Linked DNA regions of Homo sapiens: regions 1 and 2 are each linked to region 3. Evidence: promoter capture Hi-C in 16 types of primary human blood cells and fetal thymus (Javierre and others, 2016). All regions are on one chromosome and are shown on one strand. Each heading gives the region's core, a stretch centred on a gene start or on the middle of the fragment in contact. The rest is flanking DNA. Distances are from core to core; before and after follow the strand shown.

Region 1 (2,700 bases), core at 156-2,655, 210 kb before region 3:
TAAGACCTCAGAAATATCAAGGTGGTGCCTAAGTACCAGGCACAAAAGACCTTTTAAAGAAATTAAGAATGTGTTTCAGTGGTCCTTTCAATAAAATAATAGGGATACCAGGACCTTTAAAGATCTTTCAGGCCTTAGCTGTGGTTTTTATCTAATGAAGCAAGCATCAAGAAGATACACTGGAGATCCATAAAGTTCCCGAATGAGTTATATCCCCAGAAACTCTGTCATCTTGGATTGAAAAGAAGACAGTACAAAATAAGAAAGAGGCATTTGGGTCACTGTAATTCTACTGGGAGGAAGAAGGCTGAGAAAACTATTCAGCTACAATTGTGTGCTACTTTTCATGAAAAAGGAAAAAATGACTCAGAGGGCAGGACCAAGGGCCCAAGAGGAATAATGAATTACTCCCAAGTTTTGAATGAGTTAAGGAGTTTCCATCATTTTCAGCTGGATTTCATAATTTTTCTGGACCAGTAATTCCTTTTCTTTTCCTGTTTTTGAGTGGCAATAGTTATAGTTATTCTATGCCTACCCCATCATTGTATGTTGGGTGTGTGTGGGGATGTTAACTTGTCTTTTTTAGTTTCACAGGTCACAGATTGAGAAAAGTAGTTAGGGGCTGTATGTACCTATGGAACTACACCCAAGGAGCTTCATCTACACCTGGACCTGGTTTAGATGATAAGATTGTGGATTTTGATTGGAAACTATAACAAGATGAGACCTTTGATGACTTCGAGAAGGGTGGAATATATATTGCATGTGGGAGGGACATGAATCATTGGTGGACTGTGCCAGAGGGTAGATTGTAATAGGCTGCATGTAATGTTTCCCAAATCATCCCTGCCTTCTGATATTCATGTCTTTGTGTGCTCACCTCTTCTTGAATATGGGCTGGACTAGGTGACTTACTTCTAACAAATAGCATATGATAAAAATGATGTGATGTCACTTTTAACATTAGGTTATAAAACACTTTTGTTTTGGCCATTCTTTCGTTTGTTTGCTCTAAAGAAGGCCAGCTGCCATGTTATGAGCTTTCTTATAGAGTGCCCACATGGCAACAATCACTGAGGAACTAGAGCCTGCTAACAGCAACTGGAGTGAGCAGCTCAGAAGTTAATCCTTCCCTAGTTGAGTCTTTTTTTTTTTTTGAGATGGAGTCTCACTCTGTCACCCAGGCTGGAATGCAGTGGCATGATCTTGGCTCACTGCAACCTTCACCTTCCAGTTTCAAGCAATTCTCTTGCCTCAGCCTGCTGAGTAGATGGGACTACATGTGTATGCCACCATGACTGGCTAAGTTTTGTATTTTTAGTAGAGATGAGGTTTTCCCATGTTGGCCAGGCTGGTCTCAAACTCCTGATCTGAGGTGATCCACCCACCTCAGCCTCCCAAAGTGCTGGAATTATAGGCATGAACCACCATGCCCCACCCCCAGTAGAGTCTTTAGATGAGACAACAGCCCTATTGAGCTGCTCTGAGTTAAGCTGAACCCAAATTACTAACCCATAGAAACCAAGATAATCAATGCTTGCTGTTTTAAGCTGCTAAATTTTGGGATAATTTGCGTGCAGCAAAAGATGACTATTAAATCCAGATGTCTCACATCTGTAGGAAATGTGGTATTGCGTTTAGATCCAGAAGTTGTGGGTTTGAACCCTGGTCTCCTGTGTGATCTTTGGCAATACACTTAAACTGTTTGAGTATATCAACATCTTATGTAAAATGTAAATAATAATTTTTCCATCTGTTTCGCAGGGTTATTGTGAAGATTGAGTGAGGTTAGTGTTGAGAAAATGCTTTTGAAACTATGAAGTGTTCTACAAACATTATAGGTGTTAAAAATGAAACTGGCATGCTGACGAATGTCAGCTGTTACTGGAGTCTAGTTGAGGGCACCTGGGGACATAGGCTAGCTATTTCTCATTTCTTTGGCTGACAGAGTGATAAAAGAAGGTGCAAACCTAAGACTGAGGCTAGGTAATAAGACTCTTCATATGATATCAGGACATTTTCCTTATGGCCTGTGGGGAAACCTGCACCTTGCTGGGGGTGCAATGGGGGCCTAAGCCCCTGACTCCTGCCTCTTGGCCTGATGTCATGTGGACTTACTCTGGAGAAGGCACCCATTTTTTCCCCAGAAGATGACTTTTAGGGCCCTTATTTATTTTGGAACAAAGTCATTTTTCTGACTAGGTCTTTCATTACCTGCTTAACTTGTTGGTTCCTCAGAGTACAGATGAAGGGATTTAACAGTGGGGCAATAATTGTATTGATTAGAGACACTCCCTTGTTGACATCAACCCACTTTCCTGGAGAGGGCTTGACATACATAAAGAAGCAGCTGTCATAACACATGGTAACCATAATGACATGAGAGGAACAGGTAGAGAAAGCCTTCTTCCTCTCCTGGACAGCGGGGATTCTGACAATTGTCTGGATGATCTGGACATAGGACAGGGTGATGAGTACCAAGGTGCCAAACAGTGCTACTAAGGCCAGGGTAAAATCCACCATCTCCAGCACCTTTGGCCCACTGCAGACCACCTCCATTAGAGGCGTGTAGTCACAGAAGAAATGCTTGATGTGGGTATCACAGAATGGAAGCTGACTGGTCAGGATGACAGGCATGATGATGAAGGAGAAACCTAGTAGCCAGCAGGTGAGGATGAGCTGTGTGCAGACTCTACTACT
Region 2 (2,700 bases), core at 130-2,629, 210 kb after region 3:
GATCTTGTAACCTCTTTTACTTGCCTTACTCTATGTCCCAATGAATTTACCATATTGACCTGACAGTGAAAAGAAAATGTGTCCGGAATGGAGCAATGGGGATCATTCAGAATGAAAAATATTTTCATTTCTTGAAGACAGTAGAAGAAAAATACATTTTTTAATGTTTTTGACCAATTACTTTAATTAATTCCATTGGAAATTTGGGGTTTTCTTCCCGTGCCTATTTTTTTAATGCTGCTAGCAATTGAATAATAAATAATGAATAAAGTGAATGCTATTTTGGGGGTTTATGGAGGCTACTATGTTCCATGCACTGTGCCTACCAATATTACAAAGGCCTAATTAGTCACTGTCCATTTGAGGAGCTTAAAAAGGATTACTATGGCAAACATCCATAGAGTTTAATAATAATTTCAGTTGTATGATGGGTTCCAATTAGCAACTTTTAGTTTTATGCATTGGAACAGGTGATATAACTGACAGCAATAGGTATCTCTGGAAATGTCTTTAACAACTGAAAACCAACTTGCACATTAAACACTCATTGTTTTTAATATACTCCTCTTGAGACAAATATAATTAAGCTGCACAGTGGATGTATTCCCTATGGTCTCTAGTAGAAATAAAAATACTGCCTATTCTATCACTGTGCTATAATTTAGAGCCATAGGAAGTCTAGGAGCCCAAAAAGGAAAAGAAAGCTTACCTTGTGGTTCTAGGTATGTTCTCCTATTTGTAATTTCTTGCAAATTTACACTGAGGTTGTAGAAAGGAGATTCTGTCGATTTTGGCTTTCTTGGATCTTAGCTTTGTAATTATTTGCTTATTCTGTTCAGATCAAGTAAAATATGTACATAAATACATAGATAAACAGCTGGAAATATATTCCCTTTTAAGCCCTTAAGTGTAGCTTTAAGGAAGGTTATAGAATTTGGAAGACCAGAGTATAACACCTTTACATCTGAATCTATTAATTTTTATGTGACTCCTTTAAAATTATAAGTCTTCATATATTGCTTGCATAATAGCTTCTGTATATAATTAGTGATAAGACAAAAACAAAAGATTCAGAATATGCAACTTAAAAACCATTGTTTTTTCCAAATGTTTGTGAAAATTGCATATAATCCATAACTTAAAATCAGGAAGAAATATGTATTCGATGTAATTGTGTAGTTTAGAAAGATTTAACAGAAGAAATCCAGGTGTCTAGATTCTCATCTCAGACTACTGATTCTAGGAAAGCTCCTTTGCTGTGGTTCAGTAGAGAGATGTGTTAGGTGACTGCATTCCCATTAACCTGCCTTCTTTGTTGTCTGCACAGATGTTTAGCTCTGAGCCCACCATAGATGGAAATCAGTCCCTGTGTGCCAAATTCACATTTGTGGCTTTTTCTTCTATAGAAGAATTACAGCTTGTACTCTTCATTGTGTTCTTAATCATCACTTATGCACTATAGGAGGAAATATCATCATCATCTCCCTGATCTGGATCACCCCTGCCCTGCACACTCCAATGTATTTCTTCCTGGTGAACCTCTCATTTCTGGAGATGTGCTATACCACCAGTGTGGTGCCTCATGCTGGTGCACCTGCTGGTGGAGACCAAAACCATAAGTGTGGGTGGCTGTGCAACCCAGATGTACATATTTGCCATCTTGGGACTGACAGAATGCTGCTTGCTAGCAGCTATGGCTTACGATCGCTTTGTAGCTATTTGTTACCCACTGCATTACACTCTCTTCATGGGCCCTCGTGTTTGTTTGAAATTGGCTGCAGCATCTTGGTTCACTGGAGTGGTGGTGGAGTCAGCCCAGATCACCCTGATCTTCACTTTGCCTTTCTGTGGAACAGGAAAGATTCAACACTTTTTTGTGACATAATGCCTGTACTGAAACTGGCTTGTATTGATACCTCCCAAATTGAAATTGTGATGTTTTCTCTCTCCGTGCTATTTATTGTGAGTCCTTGTTTCCTCATTCTGTGCTCCCACATGCACATCCCTGTGACCATCTTGAGAATCCCTTCAGCAGCTGGAAGACACAAAGCTTTCTCCACTTGTTCTTCTCATATCTTGGTTGTTTCTCTGTTCTATGGCACTGCCTTGTTCACTTATCTGCAACCTAAGACTGCACACACTCCAGAAACAGACAAAGCAACTGCACTCATGTACACAATGGTCACACCTGCTTTGAATCCTGTTATCTATACCTTGAGGAACAAGGAAGTAAAGGAAGCCTTTCAAAGGATAACCCAAAGGAACTCTCTTAGACAAACGGCCTAAACCAGTCATAGTAGCTGAAACCTATGCTACTGTACAGAGAGGTTACCCGATTTTATGATTCTTCTACCAACATATTCTTTTATTAAAGCATTTATAGCCTAGCTACCAAAAAACATTTGGATTTGTCACACATTTTTCAATGTCTGTAAGTAAAAGGAAACTACACAGTAGATTCATTCAATTGTTAATCATTCATTCATTCAACAGTATTTACAGGGCATCTCATGTGTCAAGCTACCATTTTCTCCTTCTCCAGTGGTAATAGCATTAAGTCCAGTATGTTTCATGCCATTTTCCTGAGGAAAATGAAATATCCTTTATGAGTATAAAACAAAAAATGAAATAAACAGGAAGTAATACTATTTTAGTATCAAATATAGTCTATTAGAATTTAAGTTCTTAATTGGAGTATGC
Region 3 (2,700 bases), core at 54-2,553:
AAGTATAATAAAAAATATATATAAAGAATACAGAAAAACGTGTGTGAATATAGAAAAAAAATAAAAGAAGCTTTAAGATGACCATGAAATCTTTGACCAAGCTATTTAATTTGAATTCTACCTGCCATATTACTTTCTATACCATATTTCTTCTATTTTTTTTAAATAGCATTTGTTCCTTACTAAAGTACTAGGTAATTTTCTATTATATTGATTGTTCCATATGTGTGTTTTATCACTAGAAGTAAGCTCTACAATGGTGTGAATCTTTGCATGTGTGTTCCTTTGTGTATACCTATTACGTAGAAAGATGCTTTGTGTTTTTATTGGCTTATTTGTGTTTCAGCCACAGATTTAGTTATCATTATTGCTTGTTCAATGATAATATTTTTTTGGTGAATTCCCTAAGGGCCTGTTTCACCTGCTGGTTTCTTAAGGTATAAATAAAGGGATTCAACATAGGAGCAACAGAGGTATTAAGCACTGCTACACCTTTGCTCAAAGCCATACCTTCTTTTGCAGATGTTTTTACACACATAAAAATGCAACTCCCATAAGAAACAGAAACCACAATCATATGGGAGGAACAAGTTGAAAAAGCCTTTTTCCTTTGCTGGGCAGAGGGAATCTTCAGAATTGTTTTAAGGATGAGTGTGTAGGAGAGAACCACCAAGGCCAAAGTTACCATGAGTGTGAATACTGCTAGCAAAAATGCCATAAGCTCTAGAAACTGTGTGTCTGTGCAAGCAATCAGCAGCATAGGGGAAGAATCACAGATGAAATGGTCAATAGTGCTGGAGTCACAAAAATCCAGTTGGAGGCCCATAATCACGGGGGGAAAAATAATGAGAAAACCAGCCAGCCAGGAGCTGATTACAAGCCAATTACAGACTTTGTTACTCATGATGGTTGTATAATGTAGAGGTTTGCAGATAGCCACATAGCGATCATAAGACATGACAGCCAGAAGAAAAAATTCTGTTGATCCCAAAAGAATTAAAAAAAATACTTGGGCCATGGAAGCATTATAGGAAATGGTTGTGTCTCCTGTAGCAATGTTGATCAGAAATCTAGGAATGAAGACTGTCGTAAATGAAATTTCTAAGAAAGAGAAATTCCTGAGGAAGAAATACATAGGAGTTTTCAAATGAATATTTGACAATGTTAACATAATGATGATCATGTTTCCACTTACACTCAATAAGTATGTGATCAACATAAAGAAGAATATCACAACTTGTAACTCTGGGTTATCTGTAAATCCCAGAAGAATGAATTCTCTAATTGATGTCATATTTGGCATGGCTTAGTTCTGAATTCTGATAGGTCTGTAGATAAAAAGAAGAGTGAATGTCAATACGTGATTTGATTTCAAATACACTAGGATTGCTCTTATTCTGCATCAAGAACTTTAAGACCCATTCAACAAGAAGTGGCAGAATATCCATTAGAATTGCAAGTTCATGACAGAATTTATTTAGTAGTGAAAAGATTAATTTGTGTTTCATTACTTTAAAAAACATTTAAGTTTTATCTTTGATAATTCTCTGCTGTATAGTTTTGATTACTTAATGTACAGAAAGGTTTTTTATAGTTAAATAATAATAAATATTTTGCTTGCTTTGTTCTGTTGGTGGAATATTGAACAAGTTATCAGAATACATAGTAATTTTGAAAACTTAAAGGCCATAAAATACAAATGCTAATATTGTCATTAGAAAACAGACTTTCGGCCGGGCACGGTGGCTCACGCCTGTAATCCCAGCACTTTAGGGGGCCGAGGTGGGCGGATCACGAGGTCAGGAGTTCGAGACCAGCCTGACCAACATAGTGAAACTCCGTCTCTACTAAAAAAGAAAAATTAGCCGGGCGTGGTGGTGTGTGCCTGTAATCCCAGCTACTCCGGAGGCTGAGGCAGGAGAATGGTGTGAACTCAGGAGGCGGAGCTTACAGTGAGCCCAGATCACACCATTGCACTCCAGCCTGGGCAATAGAGCAAGACTCCATCTCAAAAAAACGAAAAACAGAAAAACAAAAAAAAAAAAAGAAAAGAAAAGATTTTGAGTTATTTCAATTTTAAAAATGAGCCTTGATTTCTTTTCATAGCAAAAACAAACAAAAACACAGAAAATACTATATTTATGGGAAATTAATTGAACTCCATCTCCTCTTGCTGTAGGCAAAACTGATCCTCTTAGCTCCTTTCTGATTGAAGTTGACATAAACACAATGCCGACCTTTATTAATGAACAAGATCACAGTATAAAAGTTCCAATCGGACTTTTTAAATATAGTCAATCAATCCAGTGTTTGTTTTAGTTCTATGGGCCAAACTCTGCATGCATGCATCAATTATTCTGAATTAGTCCATTTTGATTGATACAGGTACCTGTAGTGGTCTATGCCAACAAAACAGGAATTTTAGTGAAGTACATAATCAACATCCCGAATATGAATTGCTCAGCATGATCTGTTGCTACCAGTACTAGAAACAGAGAAACCATCTTGACAAATTTTGAGTGACCCATGAGAGTAATCTGATTTAATGAACAGAGTCAAAGTGTGAGATATTAGGAAGGGTAAAGATGACATTGAAATGGGGTCATGCATCCTGGGTCTGGCATCCCTGCAATAAGTCATACCAGCTGAGGTTTATCTAAGAAAATGCTGTCTAACTCCTTCCTGAAGCAGGTATTTGTA

The links. The method cuts DNA at HindIII sites, captures the fragments that hold promoters and counts their contacts. A CHiCAGO score of 5 or more calls a contact.
Region 1: a contact is called between a fragment that was not itself captured here and the fragment with the promoter of OR6C65 in region 3, in 1 of 17 cell types (erythroblasts). The highest score is 5.5, in erythroblasts.
Region 2: a fragment that was not itself captured here is called in contact with the fragment with the promoter of OR6C65 in region 3 in 1 of 17 cell types (M1 macrophages); the score reaches 5.2 in M1 macrophages.

The regions. Positions count from the first base shown.
Region 1 is chr12:55,612,024-55,614,723 of GRCh38, reverse strand. It overlaps the pseudogene OR6U2P. Among named protein-coding and RNA genes, the nearest start is that of OR10P1, 24 kb to the left of the region's middle. The HindIII fragment of the contact is 3,700 bases long and covers 1-2,700 here.
Region 2 is chr12:55,193,444-55,196,143 of GRCh38, reverse strand. It overlaps the pseudogene OR10U1P. Among named protein-coding and RNA genes, the nearest start is that of OR10A7, 26 kb to the left of the region's middle. The HindIII fragment of the contact is 1,346 bases long and covers 707-2,052 here.
Region 3 is chr12:55,399,132-55,401,831 of GRCh38, reverse strand. OR6C65 (olfactory receptor family 6 subfamily C member 65) reads right to left here and starts at 1,303. Exons shown (of 1, transcript NM_001005518.1): 1 at 365-1,303. The coding sequence starts at 1,303. The coding sequence ends at 365. The HindIII fragment of the contact is 3,793 bases long and covers 73-2,700 here.